Regions from separate parts of the Homo sapiens genome. Here region 1 is linked to region 2. The links are contacts of gene promoters, found by promoter capture Hi-C in blood cells and fetal thymus (Javierre and others, 2016). All regions are on one chromosome and are shown on one strand. The core of a region is centred on a gene start or on the middle of the fragment in contact, and the rest is flanking DNA. Distances in the headings are between cores, read along the strand shown. Region 1 overlaps LOC105377087 (a long non-coding RNA gene). Region 2 holds the start of RBM15B (RNA binding motif protein 15B).

Evidence for each region. The method cuts DNA at HindIII sites, captures the fragments that hold promoters and counts their contacts. A CHiCAGO score of 5 or more calls a contact.
Region 1: a contact is called between a fragment that was not itself captured here and the fragment with the promoter of RBM15B in region 2, in 6 of 17 cell types (naive B cells, total CD4 T cells, naive CD4 T cells and 3 more). The highest score is 8.0, in naive B cells.

Annotation. Positions count from the first base shown.
Region 1 is chr3:51,799,026-51,806,078 of GRCh38, forward strand. LOC105377087 (a long non-coding RNA gene) reads left to right here. Exons shown (of 3, transcript XR_940838.2): 3 at 6,563-6,997. Among named protein-coding and RNA genes, the nearest start is that of IQCF6, 23 kb to the left of the region's middle. RefSeq lists an enhancer at 2,835-3,586. The HindIII fragment of the contact is 7,978 bases long and covers 1-6,721 here.
Region 2 is chr3:51,389,687-51,396,468 of GRCh38, forward strand. It overlaps RBM15B (RNA binding motif protein 15B), which reads left to right and starts at 1,599. Exons shown (of 1, transcript NM_013286.5): 1 at 1,599-6,782. The coding sequence starts at 1,714. The coding sequence ends at 4,386. It also overlaps a transcript of DCAF1 not described here. RefSeq lists enhancers at 1,073-1,122, 3,108-3,613, 3,614-4,121 and silencers at 1,443-1,922, 1,963-2,042, 2,153-2,212. The HindIII fragment of the contact is 3,377 bases long and covers 660-4,036 here.

The DNA.
Region 1 (7,053 bases), core at 1,483-3,982, 410 kb after region 2:
TATGTTTGTAGTTAAGATGAATGACTAACATATTTGCATTTGTGGAATAAATCCTACTCATTCAAGCATTATTTGAAATCACCATTGGATTCAGTTTGTTAATATTTATACCTGTGTTCATAAATCAGATTGGCTGATAGTTTTCTCTTCTTGCACTGTTCTCATCTTATTTTAGTATTAAAAGGGTGCCAACTTTTGGGGATTTTTTGGTTAGAAAAATTCCTACAGTAGAATTGCTGGATCAAGGGGTCTGTACATTTTCAGTTTTGATGGCTATTGTCAAATTGCTATCCAAAGAAATTTTGCCAGTTTACATTTTGACCAACAACATATAATACTGCCTGTTTCTCTCTATCCTTGCCAACACAAAGGACCTGTTATCAATCTGTTTTTTTTTTATGGGTAAGTTGAGCATCCTTGCATATGTTCAGAGTCTTTCTTTCCCCAGCTGTTTTGTTTTCTATGAACTGTCTGTTGATGTCAAAGAACATCAACAGAGAGTTGGTGTTTAGTTTTTCCTCTTATGTTTTTTGTTGGGGAGGGAGGAGGCATGGGAGAGTGAGGATTTAACTTTTTGTCCTACAGTGACCTGTTGGTCTGAAGTTTAAACTCGGTTCCTGGATGTTGGTTGTAATGGCTGTTGAAACTGGAAAAGACCCTCACAAAGACCTGCAATGCAGAGGGAAGATGGCGTGATTGGCTCTGTCTTCCAACTCAAGACATTCACTTCCAGTTGCATCCACCAATTATGCAAAGGTTTTTATTGAAGTCTGGTGAAAAAAATTTCATATTCCCTAATGATAATCAGTTGTTCTATAAACCAGTCAGAAGTTGTTGCATTTTTATATTTTTAACAACTGGGTCCAAAACCAATACAATGATTTTGTAAGTAATAAGTAGGTGAGGAAATTCTATTTCCAAAGTTTTAGGTGTTCGACTGAGAGAGTTGTTATGAGTGAGTCACATTCCTTTTGGCAACAGAATCACATAAAGAAGGAAACATTTCAAACATCTGTTTTCTAAAAGCATTTCCACAGTATCTTAATTTGACTGATGAGGAGCTCCCTCTAGGGGAGAGAAAAATATCAGCACCAGGGTTTCTTGTTTGTGCATTTCAGCCTAGGGGTTTTTGTGGAAATCTTTTTAATCCCCTTGCCTGTGCTGGTAAGGCTTAGCATTGTTAGAACTAGACAATGCGATCCATACATGCTTTGTCAGTGCAGCACAGTCACAAATGATCATCTCTCCCAGTTCATGGAAAGCACATATATTGGCCTGTCTCTCTTACCAGAATGTGACCTTTATGTGGAGAGGGCTTTGCCTGTTTTATTCTTTTATTTAATAAATACCAGTGACAGTACCTGACACATAGCATGGTTCAATAATTTTTGAATCAATGAACAAATCTTTGAACAAAAGTTTTGAGCTTAGTGTAGCCTGAAATCCATGACTAGGCTCTGTGGCCAAGGGCAGGCATTTGTCTGTGGCCTAAGGCTGAGTAGTCTGTGCTGTGGGTGTGGGTGAGGTTTATTTAACTGGCTTAGGCCAAATGTATTCACTCAATGCTTGTTTATTGAGCACCGACTATGTGCCAGACACTGTTATAGGGGCTGGGCTCCCAACAGTGAAAAGGGCAGGCAAGATTCCTGAACTTAAGTAGCAGTGATATAGAGAATGTTGAGATGGTAATACTTGTTATAGAGAAAAATCAAACAGGGAAGGGAGATAGAGTATTCTGGCATGGAGAGGAGGTCTTGATTTTATCTGTGGTGAGAGAAGACTTCACTGAGAGGTGAAGGAGGGAGGGAGGAGGTTGAGCAGCCACCTGGGAGACAGTCATCAAGGCACTGAAGCAGGAACGTGCCCAGCATGTTTGAAGAACACGGAGGAGGCCGGTACGGCAGAGCAGAGTAAGGGAGGGGGAGAGGGATAGGGGCTGGAGTCAGAAAGATGTGGCCTACAGATGTGAAATTCCTAGAGAGAACGGTTGAAGATTTTCCAGCAGTGAGGGAGGACCCTGTGAGTCAAGGGCAAAAGCAGGCCTGGAACTTTCCTGCATCCTTTCCTGCTTCTAAAGGTGATTTTCAGGTTTTCTCTGAGACCATTTTCTTCGAAAGAGTCAGATCATCAATATGAGGTAACAGTGCCTACGGTGGTTCTGCTGCAGCCCACCTGTCAGGAGGTGGGAGATGTTCTAGGATAGTATGGGGTACAGAGGGGAGAACCTGCTGAACTGGATTCTGGCTGAACTAAGCTAAACAAGAGACAGCACTTTAGACCCTGAACGTCAGAGGTGGAGGAAGGGACCATCTATCTCTCTCAGCTCCTGTCTGTAGGTCATCGGGCCCCACTTAATTGCGGCCACCACTCTCATTGAAGAATCTTAATCTAAAAACTCTGGAAACCTCCCAAGAGCCAGAAAGAAACAGCCTCCACTGGAGATGACAAAACAAGATTAACCTTTTTGGACATTGATATGATTCCCTTTAGCCTCATTTTGTTATTGTTAGATTCTTTTTTTTTTTTTTAACAGTCTACAAATTGTTCTAAACTTTGTAGTGTAAGTGGTGATGGGCAATGGCGCTGTCCTGGGCTTCCTGCTAGCCAGTTGAGGTGGGGGTGTGTGCCAACACCTCTTGCTGCATCTGGTTTCATGACATATTTAGCTAGCCTGGCTCCAGATGGAAAGCCTGGCTGCAGTCAGTACTCTAAGTCAGCCTGATCACAGTATTAAGAGTCATTGTTATGGTCACACACCTCATTGTCTATGACAAACAAAACGCACTTATTCAAGCCCTAATCTGTATAATGAATTAGGGTATCTGATGGGGTGACCCACACTCCTGAGAATTCTTAGTAGGACACATGAATGTCAAGGGATGGAGTTGCAGGGGAATGACTTTGCCATGGCAACCTTGCATATATCTACACCCCCTGCAAAGGCGAAGGCTTGAACCACAGCTAATCTGAGTCTTGGCAGAACACTTCTTGATCCCCCTTGGAACAGAAGAGGATGGGAGGCTTGTAAGGCATGCTCTGAGGCCCTTATCTCCCTTGGGAGGCTGTCATGAGACAGCTTTCTCTCTCCTCTCCAGTCCTGATGAGGTGTGGGGCTTTCTGCCTCGTGCCCCTCAGAATAGAGCTACAGAATATAAAACCACATAGCTGCAGTCTAGACCCCCTTGGCTCAACAGCAACAGGGTATCCCACGACTTGCCTTGTAGTCATCGAATCCCTTTTGTGTTGTTCCTTTTGTTGTGTGAGACAAGAACCACAGGGAGCTGGCACTTTTGACTAATCTTCCTTTTTCTATCTATGTGAGTAATTGAAACAATCAGTCTGAAGTGGCTCGATTGGATCGGTTAGACCTTGGCCTTCGTTTTCTCTTGTGTGCCTTGTGTGTGCTTGACAGAAGGCCACGTACTGGGGGTCAGTTATCTGTCACGGTTACCGTGAAGCCTCTGAACTGGGAGAGCTGTAAGTTGTAATGCTGATGGTGTGCGTGTGTGACTGGCATGATAAAAAAGACCAGTGGAAAAATGAGGCAGTGGCTCCCTGTGGCAAGAGGAACTGCACACACCTGGACCTCGTTCCTGGCAGATGTTTACACACCTCCTTGCCCCTTGTGGGTGGGGTTAGGGAGGAATCAGAATCTGCATTCTAAGTAGTTGCTGGGACTCCTGAGGAGAGTGAAGCTCATTTCCTGACCTGTATCTTTTACAGGGCTAAGGAAACATAGTGCTAGATTAAAGTCTGTCGTGTCTTGAATTTGAAGTCTAGCCTACCCTCCCAGTGGTGGGACAGACCTGAATCTTCAGACTAAGGATGAAAATAAGTCCAAATAGATCAGTAATCACAATAAGTTCAATGAGTTAAACTTGATAATTAAAAAGCAGTTTGATAGATTACATTTAATAGATCTATATAATGTTCATAAGGGATATATCTAAAACAAAGTAACACAGAAAGTTTGAAAACAAAAGGATAGAAAAAAGATATATCCGGCAAATTTCCAACCAAAGAAAACTACCACAACAAAATATAATTTAAATCTTAAAAGGAATCAAGGAATCAGCGAACTATGGCCTGCAGGCCAGCTGAACCCACCACCTGTTTTTAGAAATAACATCTTATTGGAACACAATCACTCCCCTTTGTTTACATATAGTCTGTGGTTGTTTTTGAGCTACAATGGCAGGGTTGAGTAGTTGTGACAGATACTGAATGGTTGTCAAAGCCTAAACTTTTTACCACCTGGTTCTTTATAGAAAAACTTTACCAATTCTAGTTGTAAACCAATGAAAGGAACACTACTCTAAGATGCTATAATACTTGGGAATTTTTATGTACGCAACATAACTTCAAAATATGAAAATAAAAAGGCTGATAGAATTACAAAGTAAAGGGCCAGGCACAGTGGCTCATGCCTGTAATGCCAGCACTTAGGGAGGCTGAGGTGGGCGGATCACGAGGTCAGGAGATCAAGACCATCTTGGCTAACACGGTGAAACCCCGTCTCTACTAAAAATACAAAAAAAATTAGCCGGGCATGGTGGCGGGTGCCTGTAGTCCCAGCTACTCGGGAAGCTGAGGCAGGAGAATGGCGTGAACCTAGGAGGTGGAGCTTGCAGTGAGCTGAGATCGCACCACTGCACTCCAGCCTGAGCAACAGAGTGAGACTCCATCTCAAAAAAAAAAAAAAAAAAAAATTACAAAGTTACAAAGTAGATAATTCTACATTTATACCTATTTCAGACACTCATGGATCAAGGAGACAGAAAAATGGTAATAGGATATTTGAAAAATCTTGTCCACATACACACACACACGTATGAATTGTAAATGGAGACAATTGGGCAGAGAGTGGCAGAGCTGAGGATCATATGCATAGATGCATGAGGGGTCATAGTGGTCATGACCAGCCAAAATTATGAAGCCATCAATGTTACAAGGCAGAGAAAACAAAGACAATGGAGATCATGAAAAAATGGTAGTAACAAGAACAATTAGAGCATAAAAAAGTTAGCCAAACTGGAGAGACCAGCCCAGAGTGAATGCCACTAAAGTCCTGAGGAGTCCCAGAGCTACCTTGCATTCCATTCAAGTCTTTCAGATGCTCCATTTTATGACTTGTTTGTTTGTTTGAGACAGAGTATTGCTCTGTTGCCCAGGCTGAAGTGCAGTGGTGCAATCTCTCAATCTCAGCTCACTGCAGCCTCTGCCTCCCGGTTCAAGCAATTCTCCTGCCTCAGCCTCCCGAGTAGCTGGGATTATAGGTGCGTGCCACCATGCCGGCTAATTTTTGTATTTTTAGTTTCGCCATGTTGGCCAGGCTAGTCTCAAACTCCTGACCTCAAATGATCCACCTGTCTTGGCCTCCCAAAGTGCCGGGATTACAGGTGCGAGCCACTGCACCCGGCCCATTTTATGACTTTTTAAACCTGCATCTCCAGAACGCCCTCTTCCTTGTGTTGATCTTGTATTGGCCGTCCATCATGTGAGCTAGCCCAAGAAAAGCCATCCTTCTTGTAATAAAGGGAAATAAAGTAAAATCTCCTTTTGAATGTCTTGCCACAGCTATGACACAGTGCCATGGTGGACACATAGATGGGTGGGTGAAGTCCAGGAGAACCTGGTCTGCCAGGAAGTCCTAGTGGGACTTGTCCCTCCCCCTGGTGCTGGTTGTCACAGCTAATCTTGAGGTTTCTGGCTTCCTCTGGAAGGAAACAGATGCATCAGCCCTGACATATTAAAACAAGCATGTGAATACCTGGGTTTCCTATACTGTCTCATGTGCAGTAAGGAGCAAGGGTTTGGGAATCAGTACTATATGAATGCTGTAAACTTCGTTACAATGCCCACTTTTTTTTTTTGTTCCCCATGTATGAAACCTTGAAAATAAAGAGGAATAGTTTGCTTCCCTGGGAAGCATTGAGGAGAGCTGGAGAGCTAGGCAGCATCTAGATTTGATGTGAGATAAATCCTCAAGTGCCACAAAAGGACAGAAAGGAAAACAGACCCAAGGACAAAGGATCAGGGCCAAGGGACGCATGTCCAGGGCCAGTCAGGGCCTGAGAAGAGGGTACAGAGAGGGCCCTCAAGAGCAATGTGGCCTTGGTCCTTTCTTTTTTGTTCTTTTCTTTTCTTTTCTTTTTGAGACGATCTCACTCTGTCGCCCAGGCTGGAGTGCAGTGGTGCAATCTTGGTTCACTGCAACCTCTGCCTCTTGGGCTCAAGCAATCCTCCCACCTCAGCCTCCTGAGTAGCTGGAACTACAGGTGTGTGCCACCATGCCCTGGCTAATTTTTAAATTTTTTGTGGAGATGAGATTTTGCCATGTTGCCCAGGCTGGTCTTGAATACCTGGGCTCAAATGATCCACCTGCCTTGGCCTCCCAAAGTGCTGGGATTATAAGCATGAGCTACCAAGCCCGACCTTTCTGTTTTCATAAAAGACTGTATCAGGAAAGAACTGTGCACGGACCACACAGAGGAGAACTTGGTAAGTGATGGGATTCAGGTTTCACGTATTTTTACTTACACCCCTATCCTATCTTTGACAGGAGGGAAACAGACAACTGTTGCATTCCTGTCCACAGAGCCTCTCCCTGAAGAAGACTCAATTATGCGGCCAGCATCCTAACCCTGGGCTGTAGTCACTTTCGATCTCATGATTTTTCATCACTTTTACCCATGCCTGGTGACTGAACCATCTAGAAACAAGCTTTGGGCATTTGCCATTGTATAGGAAACATAGCCATATCTACCCAGTTGGCAGAAGTATCCCATGACTATCCCAGGATGAGAGGGACCCTGGAAATTCATAGACTCTGAGACTGATTAGGAAGCTAGGGTTGTGGATGTCATTGTTATAAGCCAAAAGGAGAAATAACCGTATCTTATGCAAATCTATCTCTTCTCTATAAAATCAACTCTACAGAAATGCATAGGCAACTATAATTGAGACCCAGAAAGTTGAAGAAATATTTTAACGGAAGCAGAAGGTAAGTAGGTGTTCCATATAAAAAAGAGAAACCCAGATTATTACTATCAG
Region 2 (6,782 bases), core at 349-2,848:
ATATTGTGGCTCAGTACAAGCAAGACAGGGTGTCTGGAGTGTGGTTTTTCCACAAGGATATCTTCAATCAGTGCACGTCAGCACTGACATCTCTATAAAGATGCTGTTGGCCTGGCCACCTACTTGCTCTTTTGTCCATTCCAAGCCTCTGATGTCTGTTCCAGTTTTTGCAAGTCTGGCAGGAGTCAGCTTATACAAAGAGGGAGTGGGAAGCTGCCTTTTGCCTTTGTTTACCCTAGATTAGTCTAACAGTTGAGGTCCAGGGTTTTGCTGGAGTCTGCTTCTTAAGCCACTCTCTGTGGCACTGGTGCTTAGGAAACCCAGTTGTTAGTGTGAGCTGTGGCTCAATGAAGACACCTGTAGAAACCACCTGAAAGGACGGACTAAGAACCAGTGCTTTCCAAGTAATTGGTCTTGCCTCAGATCACTTCACTTGTGTCTCCTAAGCTCAGTTTGCCTGTAGGAGGCCTTGCTGCTGTGGAACCCATTGCTTTCTTCCAAGACCTTTCCCCCTGCACCTGCCTGAGCTACTCCAGGAGCTGCTTTCTCTTTGTGCGAAGAGGGCATGACTTGGTCTGCTCTTCCCCATCGCAAGGATTCTGTGCCAGAAATTGGGTCAGGTTCTACCATGGCTCCAGCAACTGTCCTTGGAGAATGAAAGCTTCCTCAATGGGCTTGAGCACCTGGGCACCCTTTCCCTCACCTCACCTGGGGAGAAGAGGTCGTCCTGAAGGTGATGAACAGGAGGGTACTGGCCAGCGAGGGGTCAGCGTGGCAAGGTGTGATAACTGCTGGCACTATCTGTGCATATGGCCTCTTCATCCTTGGCTCTTACGGCCCTACCTTTCCAGCCTGCTATCTGCCCACAGAAGAGGGTGGGACCCAAGAGTGGCGTTAAAGAGTCTATTCCAACTCCATCAACTGCAACTGCAGGCTTGTCTCTGCTTTCGGTTATTACCTGCGTGACAGCAATTGTCCTCACGGCCTTTTCGGGGACTGCTGCAGGTGAACCTGCACGTGGAGAATGCGCAGAATGTGGGCCTTGGGTCCTGGGCAGGGTCTAAGGATAGGCATGCATTAGTCCTTGGCGCCGTCAACGCCGGATCCCAGGCAGGAGATGCCAACGAGGGTGATGTGGGGTTTGCTCAAGCCTAGTCCTAGGACTGAGGGGATACTACATAAAGAGACCACTGACTGGGTCAATGCCCCAGATCCCAACGGCCATGGAAGCTGCCACTCCTGCTCCAATCAGCGCGGGCTCCAGTGCCTGCAAGAGGAGATAGCTGGACCCAGAGCGGCAAAGCACGGCTGGGAGCACAAAGCGTTAGGTCGTCTCGCCGGCCTCTCAGGGTTCACTACACTCCGCGTAGCCTCAAGCATCGGCCATGCGGGCCGCGCGGTGGCGCCAGAGCGCGCGGCCGGTCCCACTCACCCAGCACTCACAGGGTCACCTGGCACTGGGCGACGCAGCGCGATGAGGCAGGCCCGGCGCGGGTCTTGCTCCGCCCGCCGCAGAGTCACGTGGCAGGACGGCGCACCTTGATAACGCAATGCCCGGCCCCTCGGCGCCGCTCCCGCCCCGCCCCGCCGCCACCGCCGCGCCGAGTCCTTTTGTCCAAGATGGCGGCGCCGGGGGCGCTGCCTCCTCGGCCGCCGCCTCCGCCGCCGCCGCTGTGAGAAACCTACGGGCCGCCCGCCCGCCGCGCCAGCGCCATGAAGCGGCAGAGCGAGCGAGACTCTAGCCCGAGCGGGCGCGGCTCGTCATCGTCCGCCAAGCGTCCGCGGGAGCGCGAACGGGAGGCGGAGGCGGGCGGGCGGCGGGCGGCGCACAAGGCCTCTGGCGGCGCCAAGCACCCGGTTCCAGCGCGGGCCCGCGACAAACCCCGCGGCAGCGGAAGCGGCGGGGGCGGGCATCGCGACGGCCGCGGCACCGGGGACGCGAATCACCGCGCGAGTAGCGGGCGCTCCTCGGGCTCCGGCGCTGGCGGCGGGGGACGCGGCGGCAAGGCCTCGGGGGACCCGGGCGCCTCCGGCATGTCGCCCCGCGCGTCTCCTCTGCCGCCGCCTCCGCCACCGCCTGGGGCCGAGCCCGCGTGTCCCGGCTCATCCGCGGCCGCGCCTGAGTACAAGACGTTGCTCATCAGCAGCTTGAGCCCCGCGCTGCCCGCCGAGCACCTCGAGGACCGGCTCTTCCACCAGTTCAAGCGCTTCGGCGAGATCAGCCTCCGCCTGTCGCACACGCCTGAGCTGGGCCGTGTGGCCTACGTGAATTTCCGGCACCCACAGGACGCACGCGAGGCCCGCCAGCACGCCCTGGCCCGGCAGCTGCTGCTCTACGACCGCCCGCTCAAGGTAGAGCCCGTGTACCTGCGTGGCGGCGGCGGGAGCAGTCGGCGAAGTAGCAGCAGCAGCGCCGCCGCTTCCACGCCTCCCCCAGGGCCGCCCGCGCCCGCCGACCCGCTCGGCTACCTCCCGCTACACGGAGGCTACCAGTACAAGCAGCGCTCGCTGTCCCCCGTCGCTGCCCCGCCCCTGCGGGAGCCCCGTGCCCGTCACGCCGCCGCAGCCTTCGCCCTGGATGCCGCTGCTGCCGCCGCCGTGGGACTGTCCCGGGAGCGGGCCCTGGACTACTACGGGCTGTACGACGACCGTGGGCGCCCCTATGGCTACCCAGCTGTGTGTGAGGAGGACCTGATGCCCGAGGATGACCAGCGGGCCACGCGCAACCTCTTCATTGGTAACCTGGACCACAGCGTATCTGAGGTGGAGCTGCGAAGGGCCTTCGAGAAATATGGCATCATCGAGGAGGTGGTCATCAAGAGGCCTGCCCGTGGCCAGGGCGGTGCCTATGCCTTCCTCAAGTTCCAGAACCTGGACATGGCCCATAGGGCTAAGGTGGCCATGTCGGGCCGAGTGATTGGTCGCAACCCCATTAAGATAGGCTATGGCAAGGCCAACCCCACCACTCGTCTCTGGGTGGGTGGCCTGGGACCTAACACGTCACTGGCGGCTCTGGCCCGAGAGTTTGACCGCTTTGGGAGCATTCGGACCATTGATCACGTCAAAGGAGATAGCTTTGCCTATATTCAGTACGAGAGCTTGGACGCAGCCCAGGCCGCCTGTGCTAAAATGAGGGGTTTTCCCTTGGGTGGACCAGACCGCAGGCTCCGCGTGGATTTTGCCAAAGCAGAGGAGACTCGGTACCCCCAGCAGTACCAGCCCTCGCCACTCCCTGTGCATTATGAGCTGCTCACAGATGGATACACCCGGCACCGCAACCTGGACGCCGACCTGGTGCGGGACAGGACGCCCCCACACCTTCTGTACTCAGACCGAGACCGGACTTTTTTGGAAGGGGACTGGACCAGCCCCAGTAAAAGCTCTGACCGCCGAAACAGCCTTGAGGGCTACAGTCGCTCAGTGCGCAGCCGGAGTGGTGAGCGTTGGGGGGCAGATGGAGACCGTGGTTTGCCCAAGCCCTGGGAAGAGAGGCGGAAACGGAGAAGCCTTTCCAGTGACCGTGGGAGGACAACCCATTCACCATATGAGGAACGGAGTAGGACCAAGGGCAGTGGGCAGCAGTCAGAGCGGGGCTCCGACCGCACCCCTGAGCGCAGCCGCAAGGAGAACCACTCCAGTGAAGGGACCAAGGAGTCCAGCAGCAACTCCCTCAGCAACAGCAGACATGGGGCTGAGGAACGGGGCCACCACCACCACCACCACGAGGCTGCAGACTCTTCCCACGGGAAGAAGGCAAGAGACAGCGAGCGCAATCACCGGACCACAGAGGCCGAGCCCAAGCCTCTGGAAGAGCCAAAACACGAGACCAAAAAGCTGAAGAATCTTTCAGAGTACGCTCAGACACTACAGCTGGGTTGGAATGGGCTTCTGGTGTTGAAAAACAGCTGCTTCCCCACGTCTATGCATATCCTAGAGGGGGACCAGGGGGTGATCAGCAGTCTCCTCAAAGACCACACTTCTGGGAGCAAGCTGACCCAGCTGAAGATCGCCCAGCGCCTTCGACTGGACCAGCCCAAGCTTGACGAGGTCACACGACGCATCAAGCAGGGGAGCCCCAACGGCTATGCGGTCCTCTTAGCCACCCAGGCAACCCCCAGTGGGCTTGGCACTGAGGGGATGCCCACAGTAGAGCCCGGTCTGCAGAGGCGGCTTCTCAGGAACCTGGTCTCCTACTTGAAACAGAAGCAGGCCGCAGGGGTGATCAGCTTGCCAGTGGGGGGGTCCAAGGGCAGAGACGGCACAGGCATGCTCTACGCCTTCCCACCCTGCGACTTTTCCCAGCAGTACCTCCAGTCAGCACTAAGGACATTGGGCAAGCTAGAAGAAGAACACATGGTGATAGTCATCGTCAGAGACACTGCCTAGCCCAAGCCTGTCTTTCCCAGCGTCATGTTTGTGTCACAAAAGCAGTTATTTTAAAATCTGATCCCCTCTCTACCCTACCACTTTGGTTTGAATTATCTCCTGGGTTATTTTGGTTCATTTGGGTGGGGATCAAAGTCCTGTCCACCACCAAAACTAAGTTCTTAGATTTTGGGGGATTTTTTTTTTTAAACGATGAGAAGGGAATCCGGTTATGTTGATTTCTAGTGTACAAGATACTGTCTGCTGTGGTTCTGTATTTTTTTATTTTTTGACCAACTGTATGGAAAGTTGTCAGTAAAACCTTTGACAGAGGATGGATTTTTAAACCTGTTCAGAGTCCTGGTTTAATCAATCAAGCTAAAAGAATCGAAGACATCCCTAGTGCATGTACACGAATGCCCTACGTCATCCTTCCAGCACCACTGCTGCATGGGTCACTCTCGGCCTCTCAATTCTTCAGGCTCAGTCTGGACTCTACTTACACTCATTTTTATCTTGGCTGACAGCAGGCAAGCTTCAGTTTGGGCTGTGGACGCTGCCACACAAGCCTGAGTAGAGCCCATGCAAAGGAAGGGATGGGGTGAGCGCAAGGCCTGTGGTCAGCAGCTACTGATGGTTTTTTCTGCCTTAAACCGTGTGTGTGTCCATCATCATCAGTTTGAGCTGTGGCTGTTTGTTTGGGACAGAGTGCCCACTCAGCATGTTTGGCAGCAGGTAGCCTTCAGCAGCTGTGTAGTCTTGTACAAGGAGAAGCTGTGCACTGTTGATGCCAGGGGGTCTCGGGGCCCCTGATCTGTCCAGGCTCCTGGTTCGGCCTACTTTCTAGCCTCACTCAGCCCAGGGATAGCCAGTGTTGGGAGACAGAGTTGCCTCAGGTTCCCAGGGGCCCGGGAGTCCAAATACTGGAATGGAGGGTTGGAGGCAGCCTTCCTTGGATTTACTCATGAACTTTGCCTAGTTGTTTGTGATTTTTGGCTTTCTCTGGTCGTTCAGGGGTGATGGGTAATAGAGCAGGCCCGTGTCCAGTCATACCTAGAGATTTGTGGGGGGATACTGAACCTCTAGACTGAAGTACTTACCGGGGAGCACAGTGGACTAGGGGATGCCCTTGATAATGACGGTTTCCTAGGTGCAAGATCAGAGCATGTGCCTACACCTTGTGCCCTGATGCCGAGGTGGAGACCATTGGGAAATAATTAATAGATATTTTTCTGGGGGGAAATCACAAGTCACTGAGGTGTTTGTTTGTTTGTTAGGCAGTGCTAGAGCTTGAAGCCACTCAAGCCAGTTGGGGAGGAAAGGGATGCGGAGGTACCCTCTAGCTGGGAAGAAGGGTGAGATTCCGTCTTCTTCCCTGTCTCAAGTAAGTAAGGAAGGTACTGCGGACAGTGTGGGCCAGGGAGGAAAACCAGAGCACACAGTTTTGTCACCATGGAACACCCCAAATGCCATTCTTCAGCGTGTCTGGTACCTTGGATGTTCAAACAGGGAACACTGTCAGGGCTGAGGAGAACAGAAGCTCTGGTAAGCGAATGAGCCCCTAGATGATAACCAGGAACTCCAGGTTCTGCTGGCCGTGGCATCCTCTCTCCAGGTCTGCTCCCTTACCGGAGCTAGGATAAGGTAGCATGAGTGACACCTGAGATTAGAGGCTGGGGCTCACTGCAGGCTGTGGAGAGGTCATGCTGGTCCACAGGAACACTTGGCAGTGCTCTCGTAGACCCCTCGGTGATGTGGAATGGACAGGTGCCTCGCAAGAGAGCAAGCACGTTCATAACAAAACAGCAACACAAAGACATGTTAAGCATGTTTATTTATTTGCCTGTTTTTGTTTTTTTACTTGAGCTGTGGTCACAGCTGCCAGGTACCTAAGCAAGTCAGTTGGGTACAGCAGGACACGCCACCATTCCAGGGTAGCTGGTACCGCCAGAAACAGGAGTGGGTCTTGTCCTGTTGCAGGCACACTGCAGTGGTTTTCCTGCAGCTCTCCAACAAACGCCTGAGTCACAGGCCAGAGCTGCCTTGGTATGTTGTTAAGTCCAAAACTTCTTCTCTGGGCTACCTATCTTCCTTCATGAAGCAGGTGCTCAGGACCCGGAAGAATCATCTACCTCCCAGCTTTGTGAGACAGAACCAAGTAAAAGGAAACATGCTAGAAAACGTGCCTAGAGAAGACACTTCAACCTTTGCCTTATCCAACCCCTCTTCAGAGAAAGGTGTCCCATGGCCCCAAAAAGAACTGCCAAGTTTTGGTGAGGAGTAACACCCTGGCATGACATTCCTTCTCTTTCCTGGCCCTCAACCACTTCCTTCCTTTGGCTCTTAAGACCTAGCAGGTTCTGTGAACTCTCAGGCCTTGGCCAGCACTAGTTAGGGGAGGTCAGGTGGTCAATGTC